Regions from separate parts of the Homo sapiens genome. Here regions 2, 3 and 4 are each linked to region 1. The links are contacts of gene promoters, found by promoter capture Hi-C in blood cells and fetal thymus (Javierre and others, 2016). All regions are on one chromosome and are shown on one strand. The core of a region is centred on a gene start or on the middle of the fragment in contact, and the rest is flanking DNA. Distances in the headings are between cores, read along the strand shown. Region 1 holds the start of ODF1 (outer dense fiber of sperm tails 1). Region 2 overlaps UBR5 (ubiquitin protein ligase E3 component n-recognin 5). Region 3 overlaps UBR5 (ubiquitin protein ligase E3 component n-recognin 5). Region 4 overlaps UBR5 (ubiquitin protein ligase E3 component n-recognin 5).

Region 1 (2,700 bases), core at 25-2,524:
GTGGGATGATGGGTGGGGAAGGTTGAGGAATGACAGATTTCTATATGAAAGTCGCTGTGGCTACAATGTGGAAAATGGATTAGATGGGGCCTGGGCAGAGGTGGGGGAAGGCTTTCCCATTGGCTTCCTCCTTGCCATCCCCATAGCCATGATCCCCAGTCCAGATTTTTGTTGTCTCTTCTTGTCTTGCAGCAGAAAACCCCACTACTATTGTCCCTAGCAACTTACCTTCAGTGTGGCTGTCTCACTTCTGACAAAAGAAAAGAAAATCAACAATCCTTCGTTGGGCTCAAAATAAAGTTCAGAGTCCTTAGTCTGGCTACAGGTCCCTTCAAACCTGGCCCTTGTCTCCCTCACCAGTGTCACATCCAACCACTTGTCATCAATACCTGAGCTCTAGTTCATACAAGGGAGACTCGAGAGCTGGACCGCAGTTTGAGGTGAAAGGACCAGAGGAGTAGAGGCACCGAGAGCCAAATCTGAGGCCGAATCAGAGGTCTAGGATGTTAACTGAACAGAAAGTAAAGGAAACTGGCCGAAGCGGGGGTTTCAGGCAGTTGGCTTCCAGCATCTTCAGGCGGTTGGCTACAAGAACATCAAAGACCAACATTTGGGAAGCACTCAGGGACAAGACATCCGGAGGCTTGGATGCAAGACCAAAGGTGTAGTTGATGGGAGGTAGTTCCCCAGGACAGGCCCCCGAGGACTGACAGATGGGAGCTTAAGGACAGGACCCCCAACCAGTAGAGAAATGAGGTTCCCGAACAGCCATGACCACAGCTGGCGCAGAATGGGCAGGACTCAGAGACTTGTAACTCAGAAGGTCAAGGACAATGGCTGACTTGAGGATGACTTGGTAGGAGGAGAATGATGAGAACATTCTTTATATTCTACCTGTCTGGAGACAGAATGAATTCTAGAACAAAAGGAGCAAGGCCAAGCTTCCAATCAAGGCTAGAGCTAGAAGGTCATGGAGAAAGGCGTGGGCAGCTCCTGCCTTCGCCTGCACCAAGTTCAACAAACACACAGTCATAGCCATGGCTGGTCCCCAGAGCACACACAAGGCAAGGATGTTAGTGGCCAGCCCCATGCACCCCGATGAGCTATGCTCGCTTGGGAGACCCATCCTCCTTGAAGGTGAGTGAAATCTCAACACGAGTATGGTTCTGAGAGTAGCTCTGTAACTCTGAGGATGGTCTCTGGAGACCATGACTGTGTACAGTTCACATGGTAACCAGAAGACTATGACATACTTCAGAAGGTGGTGAGGTCATAGAACACAAGCTTTAAAGTAAGTGAATCATGTGTGCCTCATTTATTTTTAAAAGCAACTTCTGAGAAGGGCTTAGAACAAATTTTTTCCCGGAGTGCCATTTCCCAAAGGTACTCACAGAACAATCAGGTGTGACCATAATGGCTGCACTGAGTTGTCTCTTGGACAGTGTCAGAAGGGACATAAAGAAGGTGGACAGAGAACTAAGGCAACTGAGATGCATCGACGAATTTAGCACACGGTGCCTGTGCGACTTGTATATGCACCCCTATTGCTGCTGTGACTTGCACCCATATCCGTACTGCTTGTGCTATTCCAAGCGATCACGCTCTTGCGGCCTGTGTGATCTCTACCCATGTTGCCTGTGTGATTATAAGCTTTACTGTCTGCGACCATCTCTCAGAAGTTTGGAGAGGAAAGCCATCAGAGCCATAGAAGATGAGAAGCGAGAGCTTGCCAAGTAAAATAACTTATTTTTAAATTTTTATAGTCGGTATATTAGCCTTATAAGTTGGAATAAGGAAAAATATGTGACAATCAATAGTTGAACAAAGATTAAAAGGGTTCAGGATAATGACCCTGGTGACTTAGGAAAGATTTAAGGAAAGAAGAGTAAATGAGTCCATGATGGGAATTGTAGGGTTCTCAAAAGACAATGTAATGATGTCGATTGGCAAGGTCGTCGGTGGTTTATAGCAAGAATGCCAGTATGATAAATAATGCGGCTTTAATGAAGGGAAGAAACAGGGGGTGTCATTAAAAAGCCATTGGAAGCAGCAAACTAAACATTTTTCCTGGTTATGAGTAAAGTGATTTGAGTATATTTGGACTTACAGAAATGACTACAGGAGAAGTAATAATAATAGATCAAATCCTTAATGTGTGCCAGAGGCTTTACAAGCAGGAGAGCAAATTGAACAGTAGAGGCATTGCCTTGGTTTTGTGGGAATATCATTCTCCTATCCCCCCACTCCAGGCAAAGACTTACCTTGTATCTGGAATTAGGTCTATCATGTTGGCCTCCCCTCTAACTCTAGCAAAGGTCTTGCAAATAAACTATGGCACTGAGTTGTAGCTTTCAGGATAGACTTGAAAGGCTTTTTAATTGAATTGGGTAATTAAAAAGAGTCAGTTTTTTAAAAAAATTTTTGTTTTAGATTATATTTTCTTTTTGCCTGGAGAAAACTTTCCTTTTCTAACTTTTTACATATGCCATTTAGTCTGTTACTGTTGATGAAAAAGATGGTTGAAAGTGCTGTCCCTGGTTAAATAAATAATACATTCATGCACTGGAATAATAAGTAAATATAGAAAGGATTGATGAAGCATCTTACATATTGATGTATTAAGTCAAACAAGCAAAGTGCAGAAAAACTGATAGACAGATGACAGATAGATAGATAGATAGATAGATAGATAGATAGATA
Region 2 (2,700 bases), core at 191-2,690, 190 kb before region 1:
TCCGTCTCAAAAAAAATAAACAAATAATAAAAAAAGTAAACAAATAAAGAAATGGGGTAGAGGAGGGAAAGTTCTTCCTTACAGTTGAATTCCAATTAATAAATGTAAAAGAAATGATAATTTTTTTAAAAAATCACCATTTGGCCAACACCACAGTAACAACTGATTCAGACAAAAAAAGAATCATCAATAAATGCTAAACTCAGTGAGCAAAAGTATGATGAGGAAGAGGATATTTGCAGAGTCACAAAGTATCTCCCCACAAAATGCATATTAAAGAAAAATGGGAAAATAGTAACTTTATAGTGGAGAAACAGGTAAACACCATCTTAACTAATCACAGGACACCTCCTTTCCAGTAATAAAACAACAGTAACATCACATGCCACCTGATATGATGCACTGAAAAGGGCACATCATCACTTCTGTGGTATTCTTGCAAAAAATGTATCACTTGAGTTTAATCACGAGAAATGATAAACAAATCCAAACATTCTACAAAATAACCACTGGTTTTTCAAACTCATCATGGCCAGAAAGATAAAGACTGAGGATCTGGCCCAGATTAGAGGAAACTAAAGAAGCATGGCTGCTTAGGGAACATAGTGAGAGACCCTGTCTCCACAAAAAATTTAAAAATTACCTACAAAACTTTAAAAAGTTAGCCAGGTGTGGTGGTGGCCCATACCTACATCCTAGCTACTTGGGAGGCTGAGGCAGGAGGATTGCATTAAGTCCAGGAGTTCAAGGTTATAGTGAGTTATCATTGTGCCACTGCCCTCTGGCCTGGGCAACAGAACAAGATCCTATCTCTATTTAAAAAAAAAGCAGCAGCAGCAGCAGCATGACAACTCAATGCAACTGGGATCCTGGACTGAATCCTGGACAAAAGGGTATTAGTGGACAACTGGAGAAACTTAAATAAACTCTGTATATTAATCAGTGATCAATGTTAATTTCTTGGTTTTGATAATATGATTATGTAAATGTAAAACATTAACACGGAAGCTGGGTGCAACGTACACATAAATTATTTGTGCTATTTTTGCAAACTTTTTATAAGGTCAAATTATTTCAAAATGAAAAATAAAATTTAAAAATAAATAAGAGTAGGCTGGGTGCGGTGGCTCAGGCCTGTAATCCCAGCACTTTGGGATGCTGAGATGGGTGGATCACCTGAGGTCCGGAGTTCAAGACCAACCTGGCCAAAATGGTGAAACCCTGTCTCTACTAAAAATACAAAAATTAGGAGGGCGTGGTGGCACGCGCCTATAGTCCCAGCTACTTGGGAGGCTGAGGCTGGAGAATTGCTTGAACCCGGGAGGCGGAGGTTGCAGTTAGTCGAGATTGTGCCACTGCACTCCAGCCTGGGTGACAGAGCAAGACTCTGTCTCAAAAAAAATTAAAAATTAAAAAATAAAAACTAAATAGAGTATAGGATTAGGAACAAATGCCAGTATATAAACTGATAAGCAAAACCTGGGATGAGCAGACTTTTACTGTAAAGGGCCAAATCATAAATAGTTTATGCTTTGGAGGCTAGTCTGTCCCAACTACTCATCTCTGCTGTTATAGTACAAAGACAGCCACAGATAATAAGTATGGCTGTCTTTCAATAAAAACTGGGGTGGCTGGATTTGGCATGCAGGCTATACTTTACTGATCCTTAAACTAAACAAAAAAATGTTCATCTTTAAGAAAGGTACTATTTGGCAACAGTATAACCGGTAATACTTATTCTTAAATATAATCAAAAATTTTTCAGTTTTATCACATGAAATAAAATTTCATGTTATTACATGCTATTTTCAGAATTCTTTATCATATACTGTGTGCCTAGGACCATTAAAAGAGCACATATAACATTTTAATAAAGACAAGAGCTATATTTAGTATAGCTAAAGGATGTACTCAACTAAAAACTTTCCTCACATTCTAAAATAAATTTAGTTCAGCATGAAAACACAAACGCAAAGAAAGTAATCATTTTGGTATCCCCCCCACAACCCTTTTCTTTTCTTTTTTTTTTTTTTTTTTGAGACGGGGGTCTCTCATTTCCATTGCCCAGGATGGCATACAGTGGCATTATCATGGCTCACTGCAGCCTCAACTTCCTGGGCTTAGATGATCCTCCCACCTCAGCCTCCTGGGTAGCTAGGACTACAGGCATGCGCCACCACATTCAGCTACATTTTTGTATTTTTAGTAAAAATGGCATTTTGCCATGTTGCCCAGGCTGGTCTTAAACTCTGGGACTCAACAGATCCACTCACCTTGGCCTCCCAACGTGCTGAGAGGTGTAAGCCACCACACCCAGGCCCAATTTTCAAATCTAACTTTTACTTTACCTACCAATTTGTGGTCTGGAGGGAAAAAAGCCAAACACTTCCTCCTCCATTTAATTATATTTTGAAACTAGTTACATTGCTTCTAGTTTTCTGTGATCAGCCTTCAAACACGTGGTGACTGAAGTAGCATAATCTAATCATTAACTGGGTATTTTCAGAAAATCTGGCCATTCAAGAATCAAGGTATAAAATGAGTAAAAGCACCTGACTTGAAATTTGTATATGGTTTCTTTAGTTTAACAGTATATAAACTTTAGATAAAAGTGTCTGAGTGCAATGCCTCAGACGTGTAATCCCAAAACTCTGGGAGGCCAAAGCAGGAGAATCACTTGAGGCCAGGAGTTCAAGACCA
Region 3 (2,700 bases), core at 32-2,531, 150 kb before region 1:
ACTCCTGACCTCAGGTGATCAGCCAGCTTCGGCCTCCCAAAGTGCTGAGATTACAGGCGTGAGCCATTATGCCCAGCCTATATCTCATCAATTTACAATCACATCTAAAAAGGCAAAGTTTTCTTTAAACTATGTCTTCAAATCTATGTTATCTTAAACAATTTTTGGCTGGGTGCAGTGGCTCACACCTGTAATCCGAACACTTTGGGAGGCCAAAGCGGGTGGATCACGAGGTCAGGAGTTCGAGACCAGCCTGGCCAACATGGTGAAACCCAGTCTCTACTAAAATTACAAAAAATTAGCTGGGCGTGGTGGCAGGCGCCTGTAGTCCCAGCTACTCAGGAGGCTGAGGCAGGAGAATTGCTTGAACCCAGGAGGTGGGGGTTGCAGTGAGCCGAGATGGCACCGCTGCACTCCACCCTGGGTGACAGAGCAAGACTCTGTCTCAAAAAAAAAAAAAAAAAAAAATCAAAAATGCACATGGGGAAAATGTCTCTATCTCTAGTATTTTGACATGGATGCCAAAAATATCTGGCATAATATGTTACCATTGAAGGAAGTTGGGTGATGGATCCATGGTACCCCTCTGTACCAATTTTGCATCTTCTTTTGAGTCTGTAATTATTTCAAAATAAAAGGTTAGAAAAACAAGCTAGGTGCAGTGGCACTCACCTGTAATCCTAGCTACTTGTCTGTAATCCCAGCTACTCAGGAAGCTGAGGCAAGAGGGTTGCTTGAGCCCAGGAGTTCAAGATCAGCCTAGGCAACACAGCAAGACCCTGTCTCAAAAAAAAAGAAAGGTAGAAAAACAATACATGGCATACCCACCTGATGCCACTCCCTGAGCTCGCTAATCTATAACCTCACTCTTCTCCAAGCTTTCTCCCTGAGCCAGAAAAAGTTCCAAACACGTCTCAACCCGAAGTTTCAGGACGGTTTGGTGTGGCAATTGAAACACACCAGCTATCCCTGGCCTAGCACACTTTTTGCACATGAGAAGCACACAAGCATTTACTCAACAAGAAAAACTAATCTAACACTGTTCTCAAACTCTGTGCAAGCAATAGCATGGCAAATATTTACACAGCCCAAACTCTACCTCTTGTAGCAGTCTTTCATAGTGCTACTATCTATGGATGAGCCTCATTTCTCCCAACTAGACTGTGACCTTACAAGCACCGAAATGCATTTTAAAAAGCTATCCTTTCAGTATCTCACAGTTGTGTAGAGGACCTAGAATTTATGTAACTTAATCTAAATTTTTCCAATTTCGTGGTTAAAAAAAAAGAAGCGAACAAAAATAAACTACTCTAGCTTAGAGAGAGACACACAAAATCAAGGAACAGGAAAATACCCTATTCTCAAACAGACAGGTATAAAACCTGTAAGTCTAAGGGGAAAAGGAAGGTTGGAGGCAGTGAAGAACTGGCAAGTTTGGCCCTATTTGCCATCATCAATCAATGTTAAGACAAAGAAAAGAGGGTAAAAGAGCCTTTTTACTCAGTGGTCTTCAAGTTTTGCTGCTCCTGATGACGGTCCATCCCATGAGAAGCACTGTTTTAAATCAAGAGACCTCCTAACTGGGAAAAGCCACCACAATCCATGATTTTACTACAATTTGACTAGGTTATGTTACTCATACAATAATTTCAATTCAACTGTCCGAAAAACCTTCTACTTTAAAAAAGCTTAACCATATCATGTCCCCGATCCCCAAAAAATGCTATTACCTCTCAATAATGTCTTAAAATTGACCAAAGGAAGACAAAGACTGAATCTACATGTCAATTGAAGAAGCTTTTACATTCCCAGAGCCCTCTGAAGAGCAGAGAGACCCTAGAGAAAAGCAAAATACCAACTGTCCTCGAGTCCCTGCCACTCTAGAGTTTCATGAAACCAGAAACATTCAGGGATGGTATGGGGTGGCTGCTAATTCCTGTACTGTACTACAGTACTGACTCCTGTCTCTGCAGGCAAGTGTCGTATGTACTCTTCAGTAGCTCTCAGCTCTCAAAAGTAGCAGAAAGATGAACAGATGCCAACAAAATCAGTCCACATGTCATCTCTGACCTGCAAACCATGGCCTGCCAACCTACACTACAGAAGTCACTCATTTCTGTTTCTGCATCCCCTAGGCAGTGACAAAATCCTACCAGGAATCGTCTCAGGTAGCAGGAATTTGGGTTAATCTTCTATTGGCGACTATAGGAGGCAAAAAAAAAAAAGTACTTCCCCCAAAAAACAACTACAGAAACAAAAGGTCCCACTGCCCATACTCCCCCTACTCAATTATTCTCTAATCTACATGTAATAATCAGAATACCTGATAAGCAGAAAAAACACAATCACTTAAGGAAAACACCTAAGGATTTCCTGGAGATGAAGACAAGTTTAAACATCACTAGAAATATAAGCCTATTAAGAGAATGAATGTTTAGCCAGGCATGGTGGCTCATGCTTATAATCCAAGCACTTTGGGGGCTGAGGCAGGAGAATCACTTGAGTGTCAGAGTTTGAGACCAGCCTGGGCAACATGCTGAAACCCCATCTCTATGAAAAACACAAAAATTAGCCAGGTGTGGTGGCACGCACCTGTAGTCCCAGCTACTAGGGAAGCTGAGGTGGGAGAACTACCTGGGCCTGGGAGATTGAGATTGCAGTGAGCCAATATTGCATCACTGCACTCCAGCCTGAGTGACA
Region 4 (2,700 bases), core at 48-2,547, 240 kb before region 1:
AACAAACCTACTGTACTGCCAATCATATAGAAGTACAGTACATACAATTTATGTACAGTATAATATTCGATAATGATAAAACTAGGTCACTGATTTCTAAAGTATTTACTATACTTTCTTTGGTTACTTTAGAATGTACTTCTTCTATCTATTTTTTTTAAAGTTAACTAAAACAGCCTAAGGCAGGTCCTTCAGGAGGTATTACAGAAGAAGGCATTGTAAATTGCACATTTTTTAAAAAGGCAGTAAAAAATTTTAAATATAGAAAAAGTGCTTAATACCTGGGTGATGAAACAATCTGTACAAAAAACCCTGTACATGAGTTTACCCTGCAGTAAAATCTCACATGTACTCCCAAGCCTAAAAGTTTTTTTTTTAAAAAAAAAAAAAAGAAAGAAAGAAAGAAATGAAAACTCTGCCCCTCCCCCCCAAAAAACCCTTAAGGATATAGGAAAGAAAGTTATTTTTTAGATAGCTACACAATGTGTGTGTGTGTGTGTGTGTGTGTGTGTGTGTAAGACAGAGTCTCACTCTGTCGCCCAGGCTGGAGTGCAGTGGCATGATCTCAGCTCACTGCAACCTCCACCTTCACCTACTAGGTTCAAGCGATTCTCGTGCCTGAGCCTCTTAAGTAGCTGGGATTACAGGCACAACCACACCCGGTTAATTTTTGTATTTTTTGTAGAGACAGGGTTTCGCTATGTTGCCCAGGCTGGCCTCAAACTCCTGGCCTCAAGGGATCCATCCACTTTGGCCTCCCAAAATGCTGGGATTACAGGTACAATCCACCATGCCCGACTGTGTACAATGTGTTTTAAGCATATTATTATTACAAACAAATCAAAAGGTTAAAAAAAATTTAGTGTAGCCTAAGTGTACAGTGTTTATAAAGTCTACAGCAGTGTACAGTAATAACATAAGCCCTCACATTCACCTACCACTCACTCACTGACTTACCCAGAGCAACTTTCAATCTTCTAAGCTTCATTTGTGCTAAATGCCCTATCAGGTGCACCTTTTTTTTATCCTTTAGACCGTATTTTTACTGTGCCTTTCCTATGTTTATGTAAACAACTACTTATCACTGTGTTACAAATGCCTACGGTATCCAGTACAGAAATACACTATATAGGTTTATACCCTAGGAGCAATAGGCTATACCATCTAGGTTCATGTAAGTGCACTATGTGATGTTTGTACAACAATGAAATCACCTAACAATGTATTTCTCAGAATGTATCCCTGTCATTAAGCAACACATGACTACGTAACTAGAATCTAGTCACATTTCACTCCTAACTCCACCCCCTGGGTAAGTCACTATCATCTCCCACCTGGATTATTATTATATCCTCCTAACTGGCACTCCTATTTACTCACTTTCACCCTAGTACTCTCAGCACGTCATAAGGAATCCTTTTAAAATGTTCACTGATATCAGGTCAATCTCGGCTGAAATTGCTCCAATAGCTTCTAATGCACTGTCTCCACATCTAACAAATACTCTATCACAACAAACCACAACATGTTTAAAACTAAATTCATCCTTTTCCCTTATCCCATTTGTTCCCCCTCCTATATTTCTTCTCTACCATCAACCATGCCCAAATCAGAAGCTTTATTAATTCTTTCATTCACTGCTAAAATCCAGTTACCAAGCTTTACAGGTTCTAGTTTCTTAAGATCTCTTAAATCCATCCCCTCCTTCCTCATTTCCAAAAGTTGACATTTACTTTGTTTCTAACCTGGATTATTGCCTGACTTTTTCCCTTTTTTTAAAATGTTTTTTGTTTGTTTGTTTGTTTGTTTTGAGACGGAGTCACGCTCTGTTGCCCGGGCTGGAGTTCAGTGGCGCGATCTCGGCTCACTGCAACCTCCGCCTCCGGGGTTCAAGTGATTCTTGTGCCTCAGCCTCCTGAGTAGCTGGGATTACAGGCGTGCGCCACCATGCCGGGCTAATTTTTGTATTTTCAGTAGAGATAGGGTTTCACCATGTTGGCCAGGCTGGCTTCAAACTCCTGACTTCAAGTGATCCACCCCACACTCTGCCTCCCAAAGTACCGGGATTACAAGCGTGAGCCACCACGCCCAGCCTACATTAACCTTTTTATCTGATCTCTAAACTTCTGATATCTATCAGCTGCTCTCTAAACACCCACCAGCCACTGCTGATCTTTTTTAAAAAATCAAAAGCACGTCATTCACTGGCTTATAATCCTCCTCCTCCTCCTCGCTTTCAGGCTGAAGTTTAGGTAGCGTTAGGTGAACACACAAACACCCTAGTGCCCCTCTCCAGCCTTTTCAGTTGCTACTCACTGACCCACAGGATCCCTACCAGAATTCTGGTCATATCAAAAAAAAGTACTTTCTCCCAACTTATTAATAAGATTCACAAAGGTTGCTCTTGGTGCCTGGGATAATACCTCCCAACTCCATCCCTGTGTCTAAGGGGCCTATCTGATCTGTCCGGGTATCGCTTCTTAAAGAAGTCTTTGGTACAGTCACAGTATGATTTATATCTCTCCCCTTTGTGCTCCTACAACATTATGCATGCCTTGCTCAAACACTTAAATTACACGATAATCACTGATGTACTTGTCTATGTAGTTTTAATAGACCATTAGCTCTTTTAGGGAAGAAAGGGGCAATGAATGATCTATTTAAGATTGTTGCAAGATCTATTCAAGACTATTTAGTGGT

What was found. The method cuts DNA at HindIII sites, captures the fragments that hold promoters and counts their contacts. A CHiCAGO score of 5 or more calls a contact.
Region 2: a fragment that was not itself captured here is called in contact with the fragment with the promoter of ODF1 in region 1 in 2 of 17 cell types (M0 macrophages and M2 macrophages); the score reaches 5.3 in M0 macrophages.
Region 3: a fragment that was not itself captured here is called in contact with the fragment with the promoter of ODF1 in region 1 in 2 of 17 cell types (M0 macrophages and M1 macrophages); the score reaches 6.6 in M0 macrophages.
Region 4: a fragment that was not itself captured here is called in contact with the fragment with the promoter of ODF1 in region 1 in 1 of 17 cell types (M0 macrophages); the score reaches 5.1 in M0 macrophages.

The regions. Positions count from the first base shown.
Region 1 is chr8:102,550,315-102,553,014 of GRCh38, forward strand. ODF1 (outer dense fiber of sperm tails 1) reads left to right here and starts at 1,275. Exons shown (of 2, transcript NM_024410.4): 1 at 1,275-1,733. The coding sequence starts at 1,414. LOC124901998 (a long non-coding RNA gene) reads left to right here. Exons shown (of 3, transcript XR_007061039.1): 3 at 193-282. It overlaps LOC105375684 (a long non-coding RNA gene), which reads right to left and starts at 314. Exons shown (of 2, transcript XR_928478.3): 1 at 229-314. The HindIII fragment of the contact is 343 bases long and covers 940-1,282 here.
Region 2 is chr8:102,356,752-102,359,451 of GRCh38, forward strand. The region is part of intron 5 of UBR5 (ubiquitin protein ligase E3 component n-recognin 5); the gene reads right to left. Among named protein-coding and RNA genes, the nearest start is that of UBR5, 55 kb to the right of the region's middle. The HindIII fragment of the contact is 5,548 bases long and covers 1-2,700 here.
Region 3 is chr8:102,399,499-102,402,198 of GRCh38, forward strand. All of the region lies in intron 1 of UBR5 (ubiquitin protein ligase E3 component n-recognin 5), which reads right to left. Among named protein-coding and RNA genes, the nearest start is that of UBR5, 12 kb to the right of the region's middle. The HindIII fragment of the contact is 810 bases long and covers 877-1,686 here.
Region 4 is chr8:102,308,555-102,311,254 of GRCh38, forward strand. All of the region lies in intron 20 of UBR5 (ubiquitin protein ligase E3 component n-recognin 5), which reads right to left. Among named protein-coding and RNA genes, the nearest start is that of UBR5-DT, 70 kb to the left of the region's middle. The HindIII fragment of the contact is 634 bases long and covers 981-1,614 here.